Regions from separate parts of the Homo sapiens genome. Here region 1 is linked to region 2. Evidence: promoter capture Hi-C in human tissues and cell types (Jung and others, 2019). All regions are on one chromosome and are shown on one strand. The core of a region is centred on a gene start or on the middle of the fragment in contact, and the rest is flanking DNA. Distances in the headings are between cores, read along the strand shown.

The links. Contacts are between HindIII fragments. The study calls those that stand out against the background at their distance.
Region 1: a fragment that was not itself captured here is called in contact with the fragment with the promoter of HELZ in region 2 in 1 of the 25 tissues and cell types used here (adrenal gland).

Annotation. Positions count from the first base shown.
Region 1 is chr17:67,450,310-67,457,656 of GRCh38, reverse strand. All of the region lies in intron 1 of PITPNC1 (phosphatidylinositol transfer protein cytoplasmic 1), which reads right to left. It also overlaps the pseudogene RN7SL756P. Among named protein-coding and RNA genes, the nearest start is that of MIR548AA2, 18 kb to the left of the region's middle. The HindIII fragment of the contact is 3,857 bases long and covers 2,590-6,446 here.
Region 2 is chr17:67,242,050-67,249,416 of GRCh38, reverse strand. It overlaps HELZ (helicase with zinc finger), which reads left to right and starts at 4,221. Exons shown (of 33, transcript NM_014877.4): 1 at 4,221-4,269; 2 at 5,578-5,633. HELZ-AS1 (HELZ antisense RNA 1) reads right to left here and starts at 4,641. Exons shown (of 4, transcript NR_136398.1): 1 at 4,209-4,641. RefSeq lists silencers at 3,204-3,403, 3,414-3,503, 4,054-4,543, 4,644-4,693 and enhancers at 3,023-4,009, 4,010-4,997. The HindIII fragment of the contact is 25,130 bases long and covers 1-7,367 here.

The sequences.
Region 1 (7,347 bases), core at 3,269-5,768, 210 kb before region 2:
CAGCACTTTAGGAGGCCCAGGCGGGCGGATCATGAGGTCAGGAGATCAAGACCATCCTGGCTAACACGGTGAAACCCCGTCTCTACTAAAAATACAAAAAAAATTAGCTGGGCCTGGTGGCAGGCGCCTGTAGTCCCAGCTACACGGGAGGCTGAGGCAGAAGAATGGCTTGAACCTGGGAGGCGGAGCTTGCAGTGAGCCAAGATTGCACCACTGCACTCCAGCATGGGCCGAATGAGCGAGACTCCGTCTCAAAAAACAAAAAACAAAAAACAAAAAACAAAAAACAGCCAGAGAGATATGGCAGATTACCTACAAAGGAAGAGCAATCAGACAGAAGACTTCTCAGTAACAAATGAGAGCTGAGCAGGGTTTGGCGGCACGAGACTATAGTCCCAGCAACTTCAGAGGCTGAGGAGGGAGGATCGTTTCAGCTCAGGAGGTCTGGGCTGTAGTGCACTATTCCAAACAGGTATCCACACTAGGTTTGGCATCAATATGGTGATCTCCCAGGATCAGGGGACCACCAGGCTGCCTAAGGAGGGGTGAAGTGATAGCCCAAGTCAAAACTCCTGTGCTGATCAGTAGTGGCCACTGCACTCCAGCCTGGCCAACATAGTGAGACCCCATTTCCAAATAAATAAGAAAAAAGAGGGTTGAGAAGTTGAGAAAACAAATGAGGAAAAGAAAAGTTGAGAAGACAAAGAAATACTATCTTCAGAGGGTTGAGGGGAGATTCTATACTAAGCTAAAAGAGAGTCATTGAAAGATGAGGACAAAGAAGCTGTTTTTAAACAAGAACTAAGTACATTCACAGGCTCTTACTAAAATGCACTAAAGTATATATTTTCAGAAAATAAAATGTGTACATAAAAGAGTACTTAGAAAGACGAGTAAAGACCCTAGTAAATAAAAATATATACAGTTTGGGCTGCACAAAACAACAAAAATAACAGTGAATAAAATACAAAATACAATAAAATACCAAAAAAGGAGAAATTAAAACACTAAATAAGAAAAAAACTGGGTGGGGGAGGTGATAGGGTAATTTCTGACTGCTATTTAAGTATACACATTGAATATTTTTAGGATAACAAAGCTAGTAGAGAGAAAAAGAGAAAACCTGGTAAAACTCAATTCAGTAGGAGACAGGAAATGGAGAAAAAACAGAAAAAGTATGGGAAATAGAAAGCATGAAATAAGACAAATAATTCAAAAAACATCAACAATTGCTATAAATGCAAACAGACTGAAATAGCTGGTTAAAAAACAGGTTATTAATAGCTGGTTTAAAAACCCAGACTCGAGATTTTTTTCTTAATTTAGCTATAAGCTATTTACAAGAGGCCCATCTAAAATACAACAACATACAAAACTTAAAAGTAGAGACATTAGAAAACATGTACCAGACAGAAACTGACCAAAAAGGGGAAGAAGACTGGAAGGGCTATATTAATATCAGTAAAAGCCTAAGGTAAAAGCATCATTAGGATCAACTGGTTCTTTACAGCCCACTTACTGGTTCTTAAGAATTAGACAAGTTACTTAAAGTTTTTGAGCCAGTTTCCTCACTTGTAAAATGGGATGATAATAATAGACTTGTTTTTGAATCTGGAATGTGTTTTTTAAAAGTAACAAATGCAAATACAGCAAAATGTTAACACCGATTTAATCTTTCTGCTGGGTACATAAGTGTACGTTTCATTATTATCTGTACATGTTTTATATATTTGAATTGTTTTTAAAATAAGAATGTTTTAATTTTTTAAGTTCACAAACCCAGTAACCAAGTAAAAATATAAGAGGGGCATTGAAACAACAGTGCTCCATACATCATCTGGGAATGACTAACTATACAACTTTCCTAGGAGACAACTTTGCAAGATACACCAAAGCTTTAAAAATGTAGATACCCAGCTGGGAGCGGTGGCTCACGTCTGTAATCCCAGCATTTTGGAAGGCCGAGGCAGGTGGATCACTTGAGGTCAGCAGTTCGAGACCAGTCTGGCCAACATGGTGAAACCCCATCTCTACTAAAAATACAAAAAAAACAAAAAAAAACAAAAAAAACTAGCTGGGCATGGTGGTGCGCACCTGTAACCTCAGCTACTCTGGCGCTGAGGCAGGAGAATCGCTTGAACCCAGGAGTCGGAAGTTGCAGTGAGCCGGGATTGCATCACTGCACTCCAGAGCGAGAGTCTGTCTCAAAATAAATAAATAAATAAAAATGTAGATACCCTGTCACCCAGTGATTAAATTTTGTAATTTATCCCAAGGAATGAATCAAGAGATGTGTATAAGCATGTATGTACCAGGTTATTGCTGAGTTCAGTCTAATGGTGAAAAATTCAAAACAGCATTAATGTTGTTGGAAATTGCTTTAGTAAATTTTAACACAGTATAACAGAATAGTATGTGGCCATTAAAATTCAGGTTATAGAAGAATATTAATGACAAGCATTGCATATTAATAGGTGAAAAAGATACAAAGCAGTATGCATAGTATGGGCTTGGGTTTTACTTTGAAATATGTGTAGGCTGGGTACAGAGGCTCACACCTGTTAACCCAGCACTTTGGAAAGCCAAAGCAGGAGGATCACTTGAGCTCAGGAGTTCAAGACCAGCCTGGGCAACATAGCAAGACCCCATCTCTACAAAAAATAATAAAAATTAGCCAGGCCTGGTGGCATGCAGCTGTAGTCCCAGCTACTCAGGGGGCTGAAGTGGGAGGATTGCTTGAGCCCTGGAGGTGGAGGCTGCAGTGAGCTGTGATTGCACCAGTGCACTCCAGCCTGGGTGACACAGTGAGACCCTGACTCAAAAAAAAAAAAAAAAAGGAAAATAAAAAATAATGAAATATGTGTATTATGTACACAATTGTCTGGAAGGCTATGGGGCAACATACTACTCATGAAACGTCTCTGGATGGTGGAGATTCTGAATGGCTTTTGTTTTATTGTGCTTTTTTGTGTTTTCCAAGTTTTCTGCAGTGAACATATGGTGCTTTGCAATTAGGAAAAAAGCAATCATCGTTTCTAAAGTAAACGGCAATAATTCAAGTTCATACTCCAATGCAGGGTCCACAAACTATATCCTGCAGGCCCTGCCACCCGTTTTCATACTGCCCATGACTTAAGAATGGTTTTACATTTTTAAATGGTTGAAAAAAAATCAAAAGAAGAATAAAAAGTATAATATGTCATTCTAAATCTTTGTGTTTAATCTATACAGCAACTCTGTGAAATAGGTACTATTATTCATTTTATAGATCAGGAAACCAAAGCTTTTAGATGGGTTATGTAAGTAGTGAAAGATCACATAGTTAATAAGTTGTTGAGCTGGAATTCAGACCCCAGAGTCTTACCCTAGAGCCTGTCCTCTTTTGGGTTTTGTTTTTTTTTTTTTGAGAACGGAGTCTTGCTCTGTGTCCCAGGCTATAGTGCAGTGGCACAATCTTGGCTCACTGCAACCTCTGCCTCCCGTGTTCAAGCGATTCTCCTGCCTCAGCCTCCCAAGTAGCTGGGATTACAGGTGCCCGCCACCAGGCCCAGGTAATTTTTGTATTTTTAGTAGAGACGGGGTTTCACCATGTTGGCCAGGGTGGTCTCCAACTCCTGACCTCAGGCGATCTGCCCGCCTTGGCCTCCCAAAATGCTGGCGATTACCGACGTGAGCCACCACGCCCAGCCCGAGCCTGTACTCTTAATGTGCTTCCCCCATGTGAAAAGTTCCCCAACAAATCAAGGGCAAATCAAGCCAGTACATTCTGGTGAATTCTCAGGAGGGAAGACCACTGCATATCAGAGAAGCTTTGTAGAAGAATGAGGCCACATTTCTACCATGATGATAGGAAACATTAACTCTGAACTTCCAATTAAGCAAAATGTTTTCCTCCCTCAAATAATTCAATTCTTCTCATTAGCAGACTTGTGTTACAGAAAATCGTACCCCATTACTATGTTTGGAGTTTCATCGATAAAAATTCATGGAAATTTGTTTTGTCTGTCGTTATGTAAGCACCTCCACAACGTCGCTGATGTTTTCTCTTGGCCCACAAAGCCTGACATATTTGTTTACTCTCTTTACAGAAAATGTTTGCAGACCCCTGCTCTAATTAACACAAAGAAAGAGGGCAGAGGGGAGTGGCAGGCGGTCACGGTATTGATGAGAATAATTCCCCACACCTGGAACTACAGAGTAGCCAATAACCCAGCTGGTTCTCTCCCAAGCTGCTCCACAAGCTCTTAGTCATTTCGAGATTGAGTTTCTTTCCTCCTCCTGCTCTGTCTATATTTTCTCCATTACCTCTCACCAAGGGGTAAGCAAAGCAAAGGAAAAAAAAGTAAAACTTAGTTCACTCAAGTTTAATACTACTTAGAAACTGACAAAAGGGAAGAGATTTGACTGGTACCTCATCTTTTGAGTTGATTCACCACTGTTTTCTGTTACCTAAAATATTTGAAAATTGGCCACTCCTACAAAGTATCAGTTTGCTCATTCACTCAACAAACCCTAAGCATTTTCCATGTACCCTGCCCCCGGACACAATACTGGATCAATCAGCTAGACAGAGTAGCTCACAGGTGAGCAGAAGCTTTATATATATAACAGCACAACACAACATGTTCTATAATGGAAAGCAGTTTTAAAAGAGTACAGGAAATGCAAAGTAAAACCACAGTGAGATACCACCACACACTCATTAGAATCGCTACAAACAAAAGACGGATAATACCAAGTACTGACAAGGATGTGGCAAACCCAAAACGCTCATATGTTGCTAGTGAGAGTAAAAAAATGCAAGAACTACTTTGGAAAACAGCCTGGCAATTTCTTTATAAGTTAAACATAAGTTTAATATAAGACCCAGTGGCCAGGCCCAGTGGCTCACGCCTGTAATCACAACACTTTGGGAGGCCGAGGTGGGTGGATCATGAGGAGTTCGTGACCATCCTGGCCAACATGGTGAAACCCTGTCTCTACTAAAAATACAAAAATTAGCTGGGCGTGGTGGCGCACGCCTGTAGTCCCAGCTACTTGGGAGGCTGAGGCAGGTGAATCACTTGAACCCAGGAGGAGGAGGTTGCAGTGACTCCAGCCTGGCGACAGAGTGAGACTCCATCTCAAAAAAAAAAAAAAACCCCAGCAATTCCACTCCTTAAAGTATCTTCCCAAGAGGAACGAAAGCACATGTCCATCCAAGAATTGTATACAAATGATCACAGCAGCAATATTCACAGTAGCCCCGAATTAGAAACAAATCTCTATCAACTGGTGATGAATAAACAAAATGTGGTACATCCCTATAATGGAATGCTATTAGCAGTAAAACAAGAACCAGCTATTGGCCAGGCATGATGGCTCCCGCCTGTAGTCCCAGCACTTTGGGAGGCTGAGGCAGGCAGACTGCTTGAGCTCAGGAGTTCGAGACTAGCCTGGGAAACATAGTGAGACCCCCGTCTATACAAAACAAAAATACAAAAATTAGCCAGGTGTGGTGGCATGTGCCTGTAGTCCCAGCTACTCAGGAGGATGACGTTGGGAGGATCACTTGAGCCCAGGAGGTGGAGGCTGCAGTGAACTGTGATTGCACTCTAGCCTGGGTGATCACAGTGAGACCCTATCTCAAAAAACAACAACAAAAAAAAAACCCAACCACTGATGCATTCAACAACACGAATGAACTCAAAAACTTTATGTTGAGTAAAAGAAGCCAGTCTCGGCCAGGCGTGGTGGCTCAGGCCTGTAATCCCAGCACTTTGGGAGGCCGAGGTGTGCGGATCACGAGGTCAGGAGATTGAGACCATCCTGGCTAGCATGGTGAAACTCCATCTCTACTAAAAATACAAAAATTAGCCAGGCGTGATGTGGGCACCTGTAGTGCCCGCTACCCTGGAGGCTGAGGCAGGAGAATGGCATGAACCCGGGAGGCGGAGATTGCAGTGAGCCGAGATCGCGCCACTGCACTCCAGCCTGGGCGACAGAGCGAGACTCTGTCTCAAAAAAAAACAAAACAAAAAAAAAAAAGGTCAGTCTCAAAGGACTACATGTTGTATAATTTTTATACGAAATTACTAGAAAAGACAAAACTATAGAGACGTAAATCACATCACTAGTTGCCGGGGATCAGGGTAAGAGCAAGAACTGACCACAAACAGGCAAGGAGGATGTTTAGGGGGGAATGGAAAGTTCTAAAACTGGACTGCGGTGATGGCTGCACAGATGTATGGATTTACTAAAACTTAAGAGCTTTTGTTGTTTTACTGAAACTTATTCATTTTACACTTAAGATAGGTGAGTTTATCATGTGCAAAAAAGAATTTTTAGCCAGGCACGGTGGCTCACACCTGTAATCTTAGCAGTCTGGGAGGCCAAGGTGGGTGGATCACCTGAGGTCAGGAGATCGAGACCAGCCTGGTCAACATGGCAAAACCCCGTCTCTACTAAAAATACAAATATTAGCTGGGTGTGATGGCGCGCGCGTGTAGTCCCAGCTACTCAGGAGGCTGAGGCAGGAGAATTGCTTGAACCCAGGAGGCGGAAGTTGCAGTGAGCCAAGATCGTGCCACTGCACTCCAGCCTGAGTGACAAGAGTGAAACTCTGTCTCAAAAAAAGGAAAAGAAATTAGATTCTGATATGGGCTACAGCTGAACCTTGAAAACATGCTAAGAAAAAGACGCCAGATACAGAAGAACACATAATATTGATTCTACTTTTATGAGGTACCTAGAATAGGCCAATTCATAGAGGCAGAACATAGGATAAAGGTTACCAGAGGGTGGGGGAAGGGGACATTGGGGAGTTAGTGTTTAATGGGTGGAATTTCTATTTGGAATGATGAAAAAGTTCTGAAAGTGAACAGTGATGATGGTTGCCCAGCATTGTGAAAATACTTAATGCCACTAAATTGTACAATTTACAATGCTTAAAATGGGCCGAGCATGGTGGCTCACACCTTCCCAGCACTCTGGGAGTCTGATGCGGGTGGATCACTTGAGCCCAGGAATTTGAGACCAGCCTGGGCAACACAGCGAAAATCTCGTCTCTACTAAAACTACAACAAATTAGTGGGCACGGTGGTGTGCGCCTGTAGTCCCAGCTACTCGAGAGGCTGAGGTGGGAGGATCGCTTGAGCCGGAGAGGGTGAGGCTGCAGTGAATTGTGATCACACCACTGCACTCCAGCCTGGGTGACAGAGCAAGGCTTCGTCTTCAAAAAAAAGAAACTTAAAATGGTAAATTTTTATCTTATACGTATTTTACTACAGCTTTTTTTTTTTTAACGAAGTCTCCCGTGCACCTTCAGGAGGAAGAGGGGCCTGTGACTTGCCTGTGGGCTCACTTTCA
Region 2 (7,367 bases), core at 2,972-5,471:
GATTACAGGCGTGAGCCACCGTGGGCAGTCCATTATAATTATTTCTCTTTTTTTTTTTGAGATGAAGTCTCACTCTTGTCACCCAGGCTAGAGTGCAGTGGCACGATCTCAACTCACTGCAACCTCTGCCTCCCAGGTTCTAGCGTTTCTCCTGCCCTGGCCTCTGGAGTAGCTGGGATTACAGGCGCCCACCACCACGCCCAGCTAATTTTTGTACTAAGGCAAATGACCAGGGAGTGTAGTTGTAGAAGAGAAACCCAAGGACTGAGACTTGGGACTCTCCAAGCAGAAAATGAAGGCACTGCGGCCGGGCACAGTGGCTCACACCTGTAATCCCAGCACTTTGAGAAGCCGAGGCGGGTGGGTCACTTCAGGCTAGGAGTTCGAGACCAGCCTAGTTAACATGGTGAAACCCTGTCTCTACTAAAAATACAAAAATTACCTGGGCGTGGTGGTGTGTGCCTGTGGTGCCAGCATTCGGGAGGCTGAGGCAGGAGAATCGCTTGAACCCAGGAGGTGGAGGTTGCAGTGAGCCAAGATCGCGCCACTGCACTCCGGCCTGGGTGACAGAGAAAGACACTGTTTCAAAAAAAAAAAAAAAAAAGAAAAGAAAAGAAGCCACGGCCAGTGGGAGCAGAGGAGAAAGAAAAAATGTGGGAAGGAAGAGGGATGTGATGTCGGGGGGATCAGTTAGTTAGGGCTGTGTGTGTTCATGAGATCAGAATCAGAATTGAGCTAAATCAGTGGTGGCCAAGGGACCTGTTTTCCCTCAACACTGTTCCTTTCTGCCTGCCTCTAGCTGTGTGTGGTCAGTGGTCTGAAGAGATGCGAGGCAGGGCCCTCAGCATCTCACTTCACACTTTAGCACTCCTTTTCATCAACACGCCCATCCCTGAGAGAAGTTTGGTCATGTACTCGACTAATACTTGGTGAGCGTCTATGTATGTGCCAGGCCCTGGTCTAGTCACTGAGGCAAATAAGCCAGACAGAGCCTGTGCCCAGAGGGAGCATATGATCAAATGGGGGCGGGGCAGATAAGAAACAACTAACAACAGGCAAACAAGAGAACTTTTTTTTTGAGATGGAATTCTCACTCTGTCACCCAGGCTGGAGGGCAGTGGCACGATCTTGGCTCACTGCAACCTTGGCCCCCCAGGTTCAAGCAATTCTCCTGCCTCAGCCTCCCGAGTAGCTGGGATTACAGGCGCGCTGTAATTTTTGTACCTTTAGTAGAGACAGGGTTTCACCATCTTGGCCAGGCTGGTCTTGAACTCCTGACCTTGTGATCCACCCACCTTGGCCTCCCAAAGTGCTGGGATTACAGGCATGAGCCACAGCGTCCGACCTAAACAAGAGAACTTCTAACACAGGTCAAGTGTTCAGAGTGACTTGGTCTGGGTAGGGGGATCACAAAAGTCCTCTTTGAGGGGACCTAAATATGATGAAAAGATGATGGGTCGGGCGTGGTGGCTCACGCCTGTAATCCCAGCACTTTGGGAGGCCAAGGCGCATGGATCACGAGGTCAGTAGTTCAAGATCACCCTGGCCAAGATGGTGAAACCCTGTCTCTACTAAAAATACAAAAATGAGCCGGGCGCGGTGGCGGACGCCTGTAATCCCAGCTACTCAGGAGGTTGAGGCAGAGAACAGCTTGAACCTAGAAGGCGGAGGTTGCAGTGAATTGAGATCGCGCTACTGCACTCTAGCCTGGTCGACAGAACAAGACTCTGTCAAAGAAAAGATAATCAGAAGATCTGGGGGAATAGGGTTCTCACTGGAAGGAAGCTTGGGGCGCTGCAGGGAAAGAGAGAAGGCCAGCCTGGACCACTGCTGGTGAGGGAAGGTGGGACCACCTCACACAGGAGCTTGTAGGCCAGGGTTGGGAATCTGGGTTTTATTCCAAGGTTTCAGCAGAGAAGTCTCGATCTGATTTACATTCATAAAATATCACAGGGTTGGTCAGGTGGAGGATGCATTGTAGGTATCCAGGAGGGGCAGGGAGAAGAGTCGGCAGGCCGTCCCAGCTCAGGCAACAGGCGGTGTATTTGACAAGGTTGGGCTTGGATGCACACACTGGAGGCAGTGAATGGGTTGGGCAGTCACACAAACTGAACACTTATTTGGGTCAATGCCTATACAAGGCAAAGAAAGGCTGCTTATCAAAGAAACGTGTTTGGGAGACACAGTCCTTGCCCTCAACTTATTTCCTGTTTACTTATATTAGGTGGGTGCAAAAGTCACTGCGGCTTTTGTCATTACTTTTGCATAAACTCAGACCACATACCTAAAGGTGCCATGCAAACAAAACCACCATTAAGCCAGTGCATACCAGTGGCTAAATAAGTGCAAAAGAGGAATTGGAAAAGAAGCACCTGGGGTACCCTGGAAAGAGACATTGGAGCCTTCTTCAGACGGGCCAAGCATTCCCTTTTCCAGCAGGAGGGGCGCTGCCTCCCCCCAGCCTAGCCCATGCCCTTGGTGGCTACCTTGCTGGGCCGTCTAAGAACCTGGCTCCAGGCTCCAGTTTCTCCACTTATTCCGAGGTGAGAAGCAGGTGACTCAGGGGAGGTTGCTCCCCAGCACGCTGCGTTCTTGGCTGGGAATGACTCACTACCTCGTTCCCTCCTTCACGAGTGACCCGGGGCCAATCCCTTAATGTGTCTACACCTTCTCATCAGACCGGGACAATTGCCTGGTGGAGTTTTTGGCTCCCCAGGGGCAGGGCTCCTGTCTGCCACCGTTCACGTTCCTAGTGAGGCTGTTGATAGGGTCTGGAGGAGCGTAAAATCCTCGGGTAGATCCAAGGCCCCAGGCCCTCCCCGTGCACCGAAAGAGGGTTTTAATGCCAGTGCTTCTGCGGTCTTCTAAAGGTAGAGCCGTTCAACAGCATTTTGTACCGAATACAATTCGCAAGCATTCCTGTCTTGGAGAATTTTCTTTTGGGTATCTCCTTGTTGTAAAAACTTGCTTGGAAAAAAAAAAAAGCAACTGGAGCAGGCCTCCAAAGACAGCAAAGCAGGGACCAGAGGCTCTGCGGAGAGCGCGGGAGGAGGCTGACCAAGGGGCCTCCGTTGCTGGGGGGACCTGGGCGGCTGGACGCCGGGGTCAGTACGCTGCTCGCCCCGCGCAGCCGAAAGCGGGCGTGGTGTCGCGGGGAGAGGATGCCCGGCAGCAGTGTGGCCGGCGGGCTGGGGGTACTCGCCCGGGTCAGAGACCTCAGCCCGCGCCAAGGCGCCCCACACTTTCCAGCGCAGCGGGTCGCAGCCCGGAGACGCCGGGCGTCCCCACCTCCAGCCTCCCGAGCTGCAGCGGCGCCCGCGGTTCTCCCCCGACCCGCCAGGTGGACCCGGACTGGCGCACCCTGCTTTCCGCCCGGGACCCTCCCCCGAGCCCTGGCTGCCTCCGCGCCCCGCCCCGCCCGGAGCCCGCAGCCGGCGCCCCGGATTACCTGCCCCGGAGTCACAGTCCGCAGCCCGGACGCTCCCAGGGTGGCTCCGCGGAGCCTGGAGCCACATTCCTAGGGGAGGGGTCCCCACCTAGAGGGTCGCGGATCACGTTACCCGCCCGGAGGAGGAGACCGCGGGACACAGAGTAAACAAGGGGTAAAAAGTTGCATTTGGCTCAATTTTTTTTTTTAAATCGTGCTTCGACGCTGGTGGACTCGGGGACACGGCGTCCTCCCAGTTCCCGGAGCCCAACGGCCCCGGGGCGGTTTCCCAGGGCAGAGGCACCTCTCCGGGCGGCGGGTGCGGAGCTGGTCTGCGCGGCCTCTGAAGGCGACCCCGGCCGCTCGCGGGCTTCCTGGAAGCGCGGCCGCAGGAGCAGAAACGCTCACATCCACGCGCACAAATAAATCCGCGAGCAGCTCCGCGCCGCGCCGCGGGCGGCAAGGAAACCTCGGGTTGATTCAATGCAGACGCGGGGCGTCTGCCCGGGCAGGAACGCGGCGAGGCGAGAGGACCGGGCGTGGGGGCAGGGAGGCCGGGGCAGGAGAAAGGGAGAAAACCCCAAAGCCACGTTTTAAAAATGCGGGTGAATTTTCAATGCCGTCAGCCCGGGGGAGGGGAAGGGGCCAGCTGCGGGCGCCGGGGTCGGCAGTCCACCCGGGGCAACTTTCCGGGCGGGAGGCGCGGCCGGAGGGGGCGGCGCCGGCGGCGGGAGGCGGGAGTCGGGGGCCGGGGGGAGTCACTTTAAAGGCTCTTTCTTACCCATAATGCTTTGTGGGGACGTTGACAAGTGGATCCAAGATGGCGTAGAAAGTAATGACAGGTAAGTCCTGACTTCCCCCTTCTCTGCTCCTGGGGCCGCTCCGCGAGCTCCCGGAGCTCTCCGGGGAGGGGACCCGACTCCCCTCCGGTGTCCCGGACCCCGGGCGCGGCGGCCCCGGGGCAGGCTGGGGGCCTGGGCGGCCCGCGGCTGGGCCTGGGAAGCGCGGCTCTTCGAGGCGAGGCCCGGACGCTGGGGCTGTTTACAGCTTCTTCCCCTACTTAGTCCCCTTCCCCTCCGCTGGGGCCCGCAGCGTCCTGGGCCCTGGCAGGAGAGGGGGCCTTGCACGCCTGGCCCGGGAGCCTGCGGGAGGTTTCTCCGGCCCAGAGCACTCTGGGAGGGGGACTCGAGCCTCCCGGCACGTTCCCCTCCTCCGGGTCGCGGCTGGGGGTGGGGAGCGTGCGGGCCTCCCACGCCCCGCTCGATGCCCCCCCTCAGGCCTCGGACTTCCACCGGGTGGGGTGGGGGCTGGAGCGGGGGCGTGGGGAAAAGTGGGTCAGGCGTGCGCCCCCTCCCTCCCCCGCGGAGGGCTCTCGGCCCGAGATTCACTTTCTTCCCCCCTTTCCCCGCCCCCTCCTCGGAAATGCTCTTTGGCCCACAAGCACATCAACAAAAATAAAGATAGGCTCTCTTTTCCTGGAGATTCCTTGAGAGTACTCCAGTACCCTTTTCAAGGGCTCACAGACTGCAGTCTTACCTAGGGAACTTCGATTCCTCTCCCCTAAATTATTGGAGCCTTCTGCACCCTCGCCTTTGCTGAGAAATCTTCAGACAGGGCTGGAAGCCAGGGTCCTCTGATTGTTCTTGGATCGGGATCCTCAGGTTTTGTTTGCAGTTCAAAAATTGTCATTCCTTCTCCCTCACAACTTAACACTTCTCAGGCAAATCATTAATATAATAAAAAGTGTAACTTCAGAGACAGTGGATTCCTGGAGCGGGGGAAGGAGGGAGGAGTTGTCTGTCTTGCCTAGTTTGTTCTTAATTTTGCTCTCTCTTAAACTCATATTAATGAAATTTCCTCTCCTTCATTTCTTTATGTTTTTGAAAGTAAGGTCAGTCTGTGTTGAAAAAGATGATTTTATTATGTTTTTGAGTTTTAAGAGCATTGTATAATCTATTCTTTTACCTTACTGAAAGGAAATGTTTTAAGGTCAAAAACCAGACTCATTTGCAAAGCTGCACACTGTACCATTTTTGTAACTTTTTCCATTTTAAATGTAGATGCCCTTTCACTTCAGGCTGATAAAATGTTTGCTACTGATAATGTCTGTTACTGGTGTTGTATGGAAACATCTTTTCTATTTGCCTCAGGATTTGGATGAAGTAATGGATCACTAATGAACTACAGTGCTGGTGAGATGTGTAAGGTGAGACTGCAGTTAAAAATGATTTCCTTTTTTTCCTTCTTTATTTTAATCAACTGGTAAGAGTAAGGCTGAAACTGAGTAATTTGATGGGGCCATCTTTGTTTTCCAAATGTATCACTCAGTCAGTGGGTCTATGGGCAGGGCTAGATTTAGAAAGGAAAAATATGTTGAATGTACCAATCTTTTCAGTTGCTCCAACATACTCAAACATAGTGGTACTTAACTAAGAGCCAAATGTTACTTGCAGCTATTCTTGATCAGTATCTTCACCAGGGATAATTATAGTTTGCCTATTCAAATTTTCTTGCGTAACTTTACTTGGATGTCTTAATTTTATTTGTGTTTTGGTGTCTATCACCTACTGTACGTTTAGTCCCGGTGATTATGTATATGGATTTTGTGTGTACCTGGTTTGTGGGACTCGTAAAGTATACCCTTTCCGTTAGAAAGAATTAGGCAGGTCAATCACTCCTGCTTTTATTTTCTGAAAAATGGAGTAGTACTTTTCTCTTTAATAATTATTTTGAAATAAAGATGATAGTGTTGAGATCTGTTTAGCTTATTAGGAAATAGACTAGTTTGTCATTATGTCCTGATCACACACGGTGTGTGAATTTATTCAAAGTGCTTTATTTAATCTAATTTGTAATGCTTTGGATTTAAAGGATATTATTGATACAGTGTTAGTGAATAGTTTTCTGTGCTATAGAGAGGAAGAGAAGTTTGCTACTTTTACATTTTTCACGAGTTTTCTCAACTTAAAATGTTTTACTAAGTTTTTTTTTAGAAAAATAATAAGTAATTGTGGTCGATTGGTTACTGTAGTTTTTTTTTTGTTGTTTCTCCACACATCTGGGCCTCTGGATTTTGAAATCCTCTCACAAATTTTTCGTGTCTATCACAACATCTGTTTAAGAAGAATAAGCTATCCTTTTTTTTTTTTCTAGATTGAGGCATGTAATTGACATTTTGCCTTAAAAAAATAAAAACTTAGGAAAGGAAGGTGGACATAAACCAAGATTCTTTTGTAAGTGCACATACTGCATTTTCTTGTGTTTGAAACTCAGCAGTGCTTATGTTTATTTCATATAATTTTTATTTTTGGCAGAGCAAATATGGATTTTTAAATTTATTTTTATTTTGCAGATGGAGGCATATTCCTGCCTTAGACCTCCCAATTTGAACTTTATATATGTGTGTATATATACATATATGTGTGTATATATACATATATGTGTGTATATATACATATATGTGTGTATATATACATATATGTGTGTATAGATATGTGTGTATATATGTATATATGTGTATATATGTGTGTATCTATGTATATAGATAGATAGATTTTTTTTCTTTTTTTTTTTTTTTGAGACAGAGTTTCACTCTTGTTGCCCAGGCTGGAGTGCAATGACGCGATCTCAGCTCACTGCAACCTCTACCTTCCAGGTTCAAGCAATTCTCCTGCCTCAGCTTCCCGAGTAGGGATTACAGGCTTACGCCACCACACCCGGCTAATTTTGTATTTTTAGTAGAGAGAGGGTTTCACCATGTTGGTCAGGCTGGTCTCGAGCTCCTGACCTCAGGTGATCTGCCCGCCTTGGCCTCCCAAAGTGCTGGGATTACAAGCGTGAGCCACCATGCCTGGCCTTATCTTTTTTCTTGAAGCCTACAGATAATTTTGTGGAAAGGAGCCAGTGGTCTGCTTTTTGACTGTGGAGATGTTTGTTTGTA